4 separate regions of the Homo sapiens genome follow, and regions 2, 3 and 4 are each linked to region 1. Evidence: promoter capture Hi-C in 16 types of primary human blood cells and fetal thymus (Javierre and others, 2016). All regions are on one chromosome and are shown on one strand. Each heading gives the region's core, a stretch centred on a gene start or on the middle of the fragment in contact. The rest is flanking DNA. Distances are from core to core; before and after follow the strand shown.

Region 1 (2,717 bases), core at 218-2,717:
GATTTTCATCCTCTAGTGAGAGGCTGAAGTAACAAAGTGCTGTTGTTAAGATTCTTCCCATTGTGCATTTTTCTTGAATAATGACATTTCTAAAAAGAATCTGAAACTGAGGCATTAGAAGGCAAGTGCTCGTTCATATATTTGAAGAGGTCAAATATTTACCAGAATAACTTCTCAATACAGAGGGGACAGCTTTATTTTATTTTACTATAAAGATGTATGTGTAGCAGAAGACAAATTATGCAGAGCTTTGAGTTAGTTAAGAATCATCTGATTTAATTCTTTGGAGAAATGAGACAAATTGTAGCTAAGGACTATGGAGTTGTTTTAGTTTGCCAGTTATATTTAATTTGACTATTTCTTTATTTATTGAGAGACAAAGTCTCACTCTGCTGCCCAGGCTGGAGTGCAGTGATGCAAACACAGCTCACTTCAGCCTTGACCTCCTGGGCTCAAGCAGTCCTCCTGCCTTGGCCTCCCAAAGTGCTGGGCTTACAGGTGTAAGCCATGGCACTTGGCCTATTTGACTTGTTTAATCCCTCCGAAGAACTCATACATACTATTGCCACCTCATTTTCCACGTAAGAAAATGGAAGCACGAAGACCTTAATAACTTGCTTAATGGCTAGTAGGTGGTAGAGCTTGAATTTAGACCACACAGTGTGGAGGGTATGCTATTAAGGAAAAACGATGTTCTAGTGGGGTTTCCATTTAATATTGCAGAAAAAAGAATCTATATATTTAAGAAGGTGTTATTTCATGCACACTCGTAGGTTTTGTTCATATATGCACATCTGACGTATAATTTAACATTTGTGTAACTTCAAGCTTCTATGGGGAGTGGCAGAAGATGCAGGAATTCTATTAATACCTTCGCAGATCTTAGATTCCAACAAGCTGGATACCTTAAGAAAAATAAAGAAATTGCTGTGCTTGGATCCCAGATGTCCATTCCACCTTTTGGGACCTCCCGGGGGGCCCTCTTTTCTTCATCCTTCAAGACAAGGATAGTGGGGTGAACAGACAGACTTTCCTTGCGAGGGTTGGCTCAGGAAGGCTCTGGGCTCATCTCACAGCCGCCCCAGCGAGGGTCGGGGAGGCAGGTGCTGGCTCCGGTGGGGTCTGCGGCAGAGCAGGACTGGAGCCCAGGGCGCAGCTGCACAGCTCAACGCCGGTTCGCGCCCTGGTTTACAGCGTTGGGCTGGGTCACCCCTTCTTTCCTAGCTTGCTGCTGTGTGTTCCCTCGGTGTAGGAATCAGGGGAGTGTCTTCTGGAGGCCACTAAAGCAGGAATAGCATTTTCATGTTAGCGTGCACGGGCGGTCTCCGCAGCCCCTCCTCGTGCCGGAGCCTGTCCTGGGGCCTGCGGGGCGGCTCCGGGCCTCGGGCCGGCGCAGGCGGGCGGCAGGGGGCGCTGTGCGGCTCGGCGCGGGGGCGGGGCCGGGGCCGAGCCTCCCGCGTGCCCGGCCTCTGTGCGCGCTCGCGCCCCGCCCGCGCAGCCGCTTCTCCCCGCGCGGGCTCTCGGCAGGCGGGAGGCGGCAGGGCTGGCATTGCAGTGCGGGCCGTGCGGGCTGCGCGGGCGCGGGGAGGCGCGGGCGGCAAACTGCGGGCACCCGGCACCCCGCAGCCAGTACCGGGCGGAGGCGTCAGAGCCGCGCACCGCGGACGAGCAGGCCCAGGTAGAGTGACGCGCGTCCCCTTTGTGTCCGCATCGCCCGGGCCGGCCGCGGAGCGGGGAGGGCGGGACGCGGCGCTGCGCGGCCGGCCTTGGGGCTCGGGGCTTGCGGCCGCGCCTGCCCCGCTGGGTCCTGCCCCGGCGCCCGGTGGCAGCGGGCGGGGGGCAGCGTCCCGGGCGGGGACTCGCGGGCTCCGTTCAGAGGACGCCCGCCCTGCCCTGCCCGTGTCCCTGACCTCGTCCCTGCTCTGCTCCTGCCCTGCCCTGCCTCTCGCAGGCGGCGCCCGCGCCCCAGGGCAGTGGGCGCTTAGGGACCTGGCGTCCCCCTGCCTGCCCTGCGCGGTCGCGGGTCTGCGCTGCGGCGCGGGACAGGGCGCCCCGGGCCAGGGTCCCGCGGGCGAGCTGGCGGCGGGGGCTTTCAAGGTTCGCGGCCCCGCCCGCAGACCCTGGGGCTGGAGCCTCGGCCCCAAGAGGAGGTCTGGGAAAGGACGACGCGTCCGGGGCATCGCCACCGGCGGGGAAGGTCGGAACTGGCCAAGAGGATGCCCCGCACATCCCCTGCGCGCGGGGTCCGCGGCTGCTACTGCCCCTGGTCCCCACCGCGAGCCCTTTCCCGGGGAATGAGCCGCCGCCCGAGCCCCGGAGTTCCCTGCGGGTCTTACCCACCCCAGCCTCCGGCCGCCGACCCCAAGCCCCCTGCACTGTGCTTGGCTCCCAGCTGTTTGGTCGCTTATGCCATCCTGGAGGCTTCCTGGTCCTGGGGTGAAGGGGTGACTTCTTTACCCTAATGGTCTTCGTAGGCAGGTCTCAGGATGTCCACTCCAAAGTTCGTGGTCTTTTTTCTAGAGAATAATAATTTTTAAAATCCATTGAACTGGCCGGGCGCGGTGGCTCACGCCTGTAATCCCAGCACTTTGGGAGGCTGAGGCGGGCGGATCACGAGGTCAGGAGATCGAGACCACGGTGAAACCCCCTCTCTACTAAAAATACAAAAAATTAGCCGGGCGCAGTGGCGGGCGCCTGTAGTCCCAGCTACTCGGGAG
Region 2 (2,700 bases), core at 97-2,596, 2.5 Mb after region 1:
GGGACCAGCGAGAGAGGGAATGAAGCCACGGGCTGTGAGGGGCGCGAGGGGTAACCGGAGACTGGCCTCCTCCGTCGCCCGCGCTCCCACCTACCCCGGCAGCCTGCCTTTGGTCCGCGCTTGCGGGCCAGGCTTCTCAGGCTCGAGGGGTTGGAGGACCGTTGATCGGAAGGGGCCTGCTATAGAGTGAACGGGATTTTGCTTTTTCATCAGTTTCAGGGGAGGGTATGTTGGAGTCGGAAAAAAAAAAGTTTTACGGGGCCACCGCTCGCTTTCGTACACGCTAAGAAGCGTTTTCACTTAGCACAAGCACGGATCTCTGCGCGTCAGGGCAAGCTGTGAGGGAGCCGGTGAAGCTTATGACCGACAGGATGAGAGGAGGACCTGAATGAGGCTACAGCCGTGCAGGGAAGAATTAAGTCTGTTTCTTAACACCAGGGCTTCACATGTGCCAGAAGTTAGAAAATATTAGGGACTTGCCGTGAGTTTCGATCTTCTCAGCTCAGGCCCTAGTAGAATAAGGAAGGTGTAAAGCTGGAGAAGAGAAAGTGCAGAGGTGTTAGGGACAAAAACTCAGCCCTCGACTGTCCATAAGGAGAGTGGCCTTTCAGTGGACACGATCCTCATCAGTCGGGAATGCTGCTGAAGGGGAGATGCAAATGTAGAGAACTTGAATTCCTACAGATGAGCATTTCGAACCCACAACATGTTTATTGTTAGATACTAGTTGGCACAACATGAATATACGCTTTCCAAAAGGTAGAAAGTATCTCCTTTACACAATCATTCAGTAAGGCTTCATTGAGCACCTGCTTGGGACATAGTCCGTTTCCTTCTGCTTAGTTCACACCTGTCATGTCTTCCTGTGATGAGCAAACACTGAGCAAGTGTCAAGCACCACACATGGGGATATAGACGCAACAGAGGGCCCAGTTAATTGCTCTCGCTCTTTTGGAGAGAATTACAGTGCACAGTGGGAAATATTGGAGAGATACTTTGGAATAATAGGAGACTATTACTTTGAAGTCAGACCTGAAGTCCATTATCTACTTGACCAATTAGTAGGACAACAATCTCACTGAACCCGTTTTCTCATATGGAAATAAGATAAAACTTGAAGAGTGAACATCGCGGTAGGTGCTTTGTAAATAATAGCTAATCTAAGAACGCAGGCAGGCATTGCACTGAGCACTGTGAAAGTATGGAAAAGGGATTTCTGACAGATTGAGGAAAAAAGGATACCTCGTGGATCCTGAAAAATGTGATGCCTGAGCTGAGTCCTAAAGAATGAGTAGGAGTTAAAGACTGGGGGGCCCAGGATGTTCTAGGCAGTGGAAGTGGCACATATGAAAGTGAGAGTGGTCACAGCTTGTGGCCAGATTCCTCATGGCTGTAGCTAAAGAGTTGAGTTAGCAGATGAAGCGACAGGCAGTTGAGGTCCAGTTTAGGAAGCACCTCGTATACACAGGAGTTTGGACCTTTATCAAGTCAATTACAGGGAGCCAGCGAAGGCTATTAAGCAAGCATGGATATTGTGGGAATTATGTTTTAGGAAAATCTCTCCTGGCAGCAGTGTAGCAGATGAATAAAAGCATGGATGAATAAAAGCATGGATTGAGTAGAGCAGATTCAGTGAGATATTGAAAGATTCTAAGTCTAGCTGACGAGAGCCTGTAGTGAGTGATGTGAGTGTGAGAGAGTATGCAAATGAGATCTTCAGGATTTTGTGGCTGATCAGCTGTATCTGGAAGGGTGGTTGTGGGGAGGGAAGGCAGGGCAGAGAGGATGTTATGATCAGATTCCTAAGTTTGGCAGTTGGGAAAGGGTAGTGTTATTCACTCAAGGAGTATAAGAGATGGGGCAACTCTGGAGTAAATTTGGGAATTTGGTTGTTTCGTAACAGCTTTATTGAGATACAGTTTACATACCATACAACTCACAATTTACATACCATACAACTCATTTAAAGAGTATAATTCAGTCGTTCTTAACATAGAGTTATACAACCATCACCTCTCTCTAATTCCAGCACATTTTCATCACTCCCAAGAGATACCTTGTATTCATTAGCAGTCATAGACAATCCCCACTACCTCTCCAGCCCTAAGCAACCACTAATCTACTTCTTTATAGATTTGCCTGTTCTGGACATTTCATGTAAGTGTGATCATACAATACATACTCTTTTGTCTCTGGCATCTTTCATTTAGCATAATCTTTCCAAGGTTCAAAATTGAGGAGTTTTGTTCATTCAATAAGTATTTTTTGTGATGTGCTACATGCCAGGTACTGTAGCAATACAGCAGTGAATAAGATGGACAATGCCTCTGTTCTTAGGAAGCTTTCATTTAGTAGCCTGAAAGAAGACATAAGTAGGTACAATAACTTCATGTAGTTGTATTAAGATAACTGATGCTGGGTTGTGGCTTGCTGTGAAGGGCAAATTAGAGGAGGTAGTCAAGGGAAAGCATCTGAGAAGGTGACGTTGGAACTGAGACCCAAATGATACAAAGGAGCCAACCACATCAATATCTGAAGACAAAGCATTTCAGGAAGAAAGTAGAGCAAGTACGGGGCATGTGGTGGAAACTAGTTTGGCATCTTGAATATGAAGTCCCGGGAGAGATCCTAGTAGAGATACCTAGTGTCACGTGTATGTATTAAAGGTCTAGAATTCAGAAGAACAATCTGGGTTACAAA
Region 3 (2,700 bases), core at 86-2,585, 2.0 Mb after region 1:
AGGGATGCCACAAACTTTCTGTTTGTTTAATAAAAAGAAAAAAGGCAGTATCTATGGTGCAATAAATAAATGGAGTGCAATAAAATAAAATGGAGTGCAATAGAACAGGTGTGCCCATATTTGTTTAACCTGAATTATAGTTCCTATCAGAAAGGCAGAAGGAACAGTGAATTAAGGAGCTGTTACTGCTCCAGGCCTAAAAGGCTTGCAAGCCTCGCTCAAATAGCCTTTTTATTAAACAGCTTTATTGAGGTATAATTCACACACCATGAAATTTACTTATTGTAAGTGTATAATTCAACAATTTTTAGTAAATGTGTAGAGTTGTGTGACCATCACTGCAAGACCGCTGCCCCAAGAGTTCCCTTGTGGTTACTTGCAGTAATCCCTAATTGTACCCTCAACCCTAGGCAACCACCGATCATTTTCTGTCTCTAGATCTGTCTTTTCTGGGAGTCTCATGTAAATAAAATAAAACAATATGTAGTCTTTTGTATCTGGCTTCTTCCACTTACCGTGCTCTTGAGGTTCCTCCATGTTGCAGCATATATCAGCAGTTTGTTCCTTTGTAAACTGCCGAATGGTATTCCATTGTATGGACATGCCACATTTCGTTTATCCTTTCACCAGCCGGTGAATATTTGGGCTGTTTGAAGCTTTTAGCTATTATGAATAGTGCTACTCTATGTGGACATACGTTTTCACCCTGGGTAGAAACCTAACAACAGAATTTTCAGGGCATATGGTAAGTTAATGTTTAACTTTCAACCAAAATGTTTTCCAAAGTGACTACAATTTTTATGTTCCTGTAAGCAACGTATGAAGATTCTAGTTTCTTCATATCCTCACTAATGCTGGGTATTGTCAGTCTTTTAAATTACATCCATTCTAGTGGATATATAGTTGTTATTATATAAAATAGTTTTAATTTTATTGTAGTTTTAATTTGCAATTCGCTAATGGCTAGTGATCTTGAGCATCTTTTAATTTGCATATTGGCCATGAAATGTGTAACTAGCAATTCTGTCCATCTTTAAATTGGGTTGTCTTCTTAGTATTGATTGTACGAGTTCTGTACATCTTCTGGATCCAAGTCCTGTATCAGACACATGTTTTGCAAGTATTTTTCTCCTGTGGCTTATCTCTTCATTTCCTTAAAGGTGTCTTTTGAATAGTAAAAGTTTTAAATTCTGAAATACGAGTATTCAATTTTTTTATTTTATTATGATTCATTTTTAATTTTTTGTTTTGAGACAGGTTCTCGCTGTTTCCCAGGCTGGAGCACAGTGGTACAATCATAACTCAATGTACCTTGGACTCCTGGGTTCAAGTGATCTCCCTGCCTTAGCCTCCCAAGCAGCTAGGACTACAGGTGTGCGCCACCACACTGGGGTACTTTTCTACTTATAAACAACTTTTTTTAAAAGATGGTGTCTCACTATGTTGCCCAGGCTGGTCTCAAACTCCTGGCCTCAAGCAATCCTCTTCCCTCGGCCTCCCAAAGTGCTGGGGTTACAGGCGTGTGCTATCACACTCAGACAATTTTTTTCTTTATGGGCAATTATTTGGTTGTCATATCTAAGAAGTCTTTGCCCAATCACAAGTCACAGAGAATTTCTCCTGTGTTGTCTTCTGAAGTTTTATAGGTTTAGCTGCTACATTGAGGACTAAGAGGCATTTTGAGTTGATTTTTATGTATGATGTGAGGTAAGGGTCAGGTTCATTTCTGTGCATATAGAAACCTGATTGTCCCAGCACTGTGTATTGAAAAAACTATCCTTTCCCAACTGCCTTGGCACTTTTGTCAAAAATCAACTGACCATAAAGGTTTATTTCTGAACTCTCAATTTTGTTGCAATGATTTATATGTCTATCCTTATGCCAATAGCACAGTGTCTTGATCACAGTAGCATGAGTTTTGAAACACAGGAGTGTAAATCTTCAAACTCTGTTATACTTTTTCAAAATTATCTTGGTTACTTAAGGTCCTTAGTATTTCCATATAACTTTTAGGAAAAGCTTATCAATTTCTACCAAAAAAAAAAACTGCCAGTGTTTCTGTTAGGAATTGCATTAAATCTATAGATGAATTTGTGAAGAAATGCCATCTTAACAATGTAAAGTCTTCCAACTCATAAATATAAAATACTTCTCCATTTAATCTTCTCTCAGGAATGTTTTACAGTTTTCAAGTGCAACTGCAATTCTTTTATTAGATTTATTTCTAAGTATTTTATTCTTTTTGATGCTGCTGTGAATGGAATTGTTTTTATACCTGCATTTCTGGATTCTCAATTTGTAGTATATAGAAATATAACTGATTTTGTACACTGGTCTTATAAACTGCAACCTTGCCAGCCTCATTTATTAGTCCTCAGTCTTTTTCTGTGGCTATTCCAACACTCATCTGGTTTCTGTTTGCATGGCTTACATCTTTTCCACTCTTTTACCTTCAGCCTACTCATGTCTTTAATGTGTTTTACTGGTAGACAACATATAGTTAGATTTTTTTTAATCCAGTCTGACAACTTCTGACTTTTCACTGGCATTTACTGTAAGTATTTATACGGTCAGATTTAACCTGCCATTTTGCTATTTGTTTTAGCTATGTCTCAGGCCTTTTTTGTTCCTCCTTTAGTGCCTTCTTTTGTATTAAACAAATATTTGGTAGTGAACTATTTTAATTCCTCTGTTGATTCT
Region 4 (2,700 bases), core at 94-2,593, 2.1 Mb after region 1:
AGAGTGAATTCACCCTTCCTCCACCTTTTTGTTCTATTTGGGCCCTCAGCAGATGTGATGACGCCGGGGTACGTGGGTGAGAAAATCTTTACTCAATGTACCAATTCGAATGCTGATCTCTGCAGGAAACATGCTCAAATACACATTGAGAAATAATGTTTCAATAGCTCTATCTGGGCACCTTTTAGCCCAGTCAAGCTGACACATAATATTAATCCAAGAAATTTAGTATAATTCTGAAAATGGAAACCATTTGTTTCGTATTAAATATACTACCTCTTCATGTTTTTAATGAAGAATTGAAGCTGGCATTTTAAGCTGATAACTCATTGATGGTAGCATAAACTGTGTGCAGGCCATACAATTAGCCTGACCAGTATCTGCTAATTATACCAGAAGCTCTTCAGTGGAGACAAAAGAGAAAAGAATTAAACTAATTGTATATAATGCCTCACTGCCCTACCTTGGGTAACATCCATCCTATAAAGAGCAATTCTTGTGTTAAAACATTTATTGACCACTTACTATGTTCAAGGAGCTATGTGGGGTGACGTAAAGGATAAATGATGCCTGTAATCAAAAGAAGAAAACAGTCGTATTCACAAATTCACATGTTACAAGAAAAGTATCAAGGAAGTTTCTTTTTTTAATGTTAAAATCAAAGGAATATGTCTGTAAGAAAGAAGCTTAGCTTGAAGTTAAAAGACCTGAATTTTAACCCTAACTTTTCCACCAGATAGCTATGAACTTTAGAAATTGGCTTAGCTTCTCTGTGCCTTAAGTTTCCCATTGTTAAATATGAATAATGGTAACTGTTCATCCTACCTCATAGGAGTGTTGTGACTATGAGCATGAACTTAATCATAGACTCAATTATTTTTAAAGTTACTAGTACTGTTAGTCTGAGAAATAATAACTAGTAGTAAAGGGATTTCAATATAGCAGCCACATTGTTAACAAGAGTTACTTAGACAAAGGCACAGGAGCACCAGGCAGCATCCACGTGTGGTAAGATGGCAGTGCGGCAGTGCTCTTGTCCTGGGTTCATTGCCCTCGCCTCCTAAAATCGCTGTGATCATTAAAGATTGCTAAAATGAGATGTTTCCTTCCCAACTTATTTTTAACATTGAAGAAACCACTGGGAAGAAATGAATAATCTGCCAAGCTGCTTTTGTTTTGTAAAAATAGTATGTGCCATGAAATTCCATCTCTCAGGCAATTATTTTGCCTATTCTATGTTCCTATACCCTGGAATAATTTTGATGGATGAAGAACATTGAACCATACACATAATAACAACCCAAGTTAACTAGAGGGGCATCTTTAAGCACTTGCAAGCTAACCTTAGCCTGAGACTAGAAAATGGAACGAGAATGTCACCCTTTAAGACCTAACATAGTTCAATTAGGAAATCACAAAGTAGGCTGAACAAGAGGTAGCAAACACAGTAGGAGAAGTCCTGGCTCCACTGTATTCTGGCTCCACCACGGACGTGGACTGTACCAGCAAACAAATCACTCATCTTCAATTTCATTGGGAACATGTTAAGAGATTTGTTAAATAAATGATTTCAATTGTCACCTCTTCCTCTAAAATTAAATGATTCCCAAGAATTTTTGGGACTTTCTCTGTCTCTGTGAGACCACAGTCTAGGTTTAAATTAGGCTAAAAGATGCAAATGAAACTATTACTCATCAGTTTGGGAATAGCACTGCTTTCTAATTATTCCACAGGTTCCAGGACTACCTCAAATGTATTACGTCTCTAATCAGTCTTTCTCCTTAAAAATGCCTATTATTTCTTGGTGGACTGCAAAGATTTCTGTTTTATATCTGCGCATCTTGGGAAACATTTTATTTTCCTCATAGATTTATTTGGCATTTTTATCTTTATATGATTGAGTCAAATCTCAATACAAAGAACACCCCTTTCATGCTTATTTATTACAACATGAGCATGCAGCCTCCAACCCCTGATTCCTAGGTACAGAAAAATAAAGTTCAAGCTTTTTCATGCTTTTGCATATCTGCATAATAGTTTTTGTGTCCAAATTATGAAACACCTTAAATATAAATTGCTGTAGCCTCCCCAGGGTTCATCATAATCACCGTCACCACTAGCAGCATTTATTGCATCTGCTGGGGTCACTGCACTGGGGAAGAAGGCCTCATTTTCTCAGTTCGCCTAATATTCCAGGTTCTTTCTGTTTATCTATAATTGTAAGAAGAGTTGCCCTTCTGATACATGTTGACATATCACTGTTCTGCTAAACAGTGTAGTCTGGCTACTAGGGGAGGAGTTACACCCACCCTCTTCTGCTGCCAGCTCTGTGACAAAGAGAAAGCTGTAAGTTATTCTCCAGCCTGCTGAAGAGTTTTGTGTAGTCCCCAGCAGCCTATCACTTTCAGCAGAATTCCCTCTTTAGAAGTAAATGTGTCAAACTGCATATTTTGTTATGGGTATTTTATGCCTAAACCCTTCCTCCCTTATTGTCATTTTATAGATGCTGGGTTTTGGTCCACAGATTACAATACCAGTGTCCTAACTAATGTCAGAGTTCTAGCCAGTGAAAAATTAGAAATGAGAGTCATCTCTTCCCATCATGTCTGGGGTTACCACATCTAACCTGGTTCTCTTGCCAAAGAACTTGCTCTCCAGGATGGATGACTCTGGATAAACATGAGTTACCTGCTAAGGAAT

What was found. Contacts are between HindIII fragments. The CHiCAGO score rates a contact against its expected background, and 5 or more counts as called.
Region 2: a fragment that was not itself captured here is called in contact with the fragment with the promoter of RNF144A in region 1 in 2 of 17 cell types (fetal thymus and non-activated CD4 T cells); the score reaches 8.7 in fetal thymus.
Region 3: a contact is called between a fragment that was not itself captured here and the fragment with the promoter of RNF144A in region 1, in 1 of 17 cell types (erythroblasts). The highest score is 10.0, in erythroblasts.
Region 4: a contact is called between a fragment that was not itself captured here and the fragment with the promoter of RNF144A in region 1, in 3 of 17 cell types (fetal thymus, activated CD4 T cells and erythroblasts). The highest score is 7.5, in fetal thymus.

The regions. Positions count from the first base shown.
Region 1 is chr2:6,915,945-6,918,661 of GRCh38, forward strand. RNF144A (ring finger protein 144A) reads left to right here and starts at 1,468. Exons shown (of 9, transcript NM_014746.6): 1 at 1,468-1,678. GRASLND (glycosaminoglycan regulatory associated long non-coding RNA) reads right to left here. Exons shown (of 5, transcript NR_033997.1): 1 at 2,458-2,717; 2 at 906-1,280; 3 at 1-23. RefSeq lists a silencer at 1,308-1,797. The HindIII fragment of the contact is 2,406 bases long and covers 827-2,717 here.
Region 2 is chr2:9,423,828-9,426,527 of GRCh38, forward strand. The region is part of intron 1 of CPSF3 (cleavage and polyadenylation specific factor 3); the gene reads left to right. Among named protein-coding and RNA genes, the nearest start is that of CPSF3, 1.5 kb to the left of the region's middle. RefSeq lists an enhancer at 14-63. The HindIII fragment of the contact is 1,985 bases long and covers 355-2,339 here.
Region 3 is chr2:8,918,526-8,921,225 of GRCh38, forward strand. All of the region lies in intron 3 of MBOAT2 (membrane bound glycerophospholipid O-acyltransferase 2), which reads right to left. Among named protein-coding and RNA genes, the nearest start is that of KIDINS220, 82 kb to the left of the region's middle. The HindIII fragment of the contact is 1,363 bases long and covers 655-2,017 here.
Region 4 is chr2:9,006,841-9,009,540 of GRCh38, forward strand. It overlaps LOC124907728 (a long non-coding RNA gene), which reads left to right. Exons shown (of 2, transcript XR_007086199.1): 2 at 1-2,023. Among named protein-coding and RNA genes, the nearest start is that of MBOAT2, 4.5 kb to the left of the region's middle. The HindIII fragment of the contact is 1,319 bases long and covers 685-2,003 here.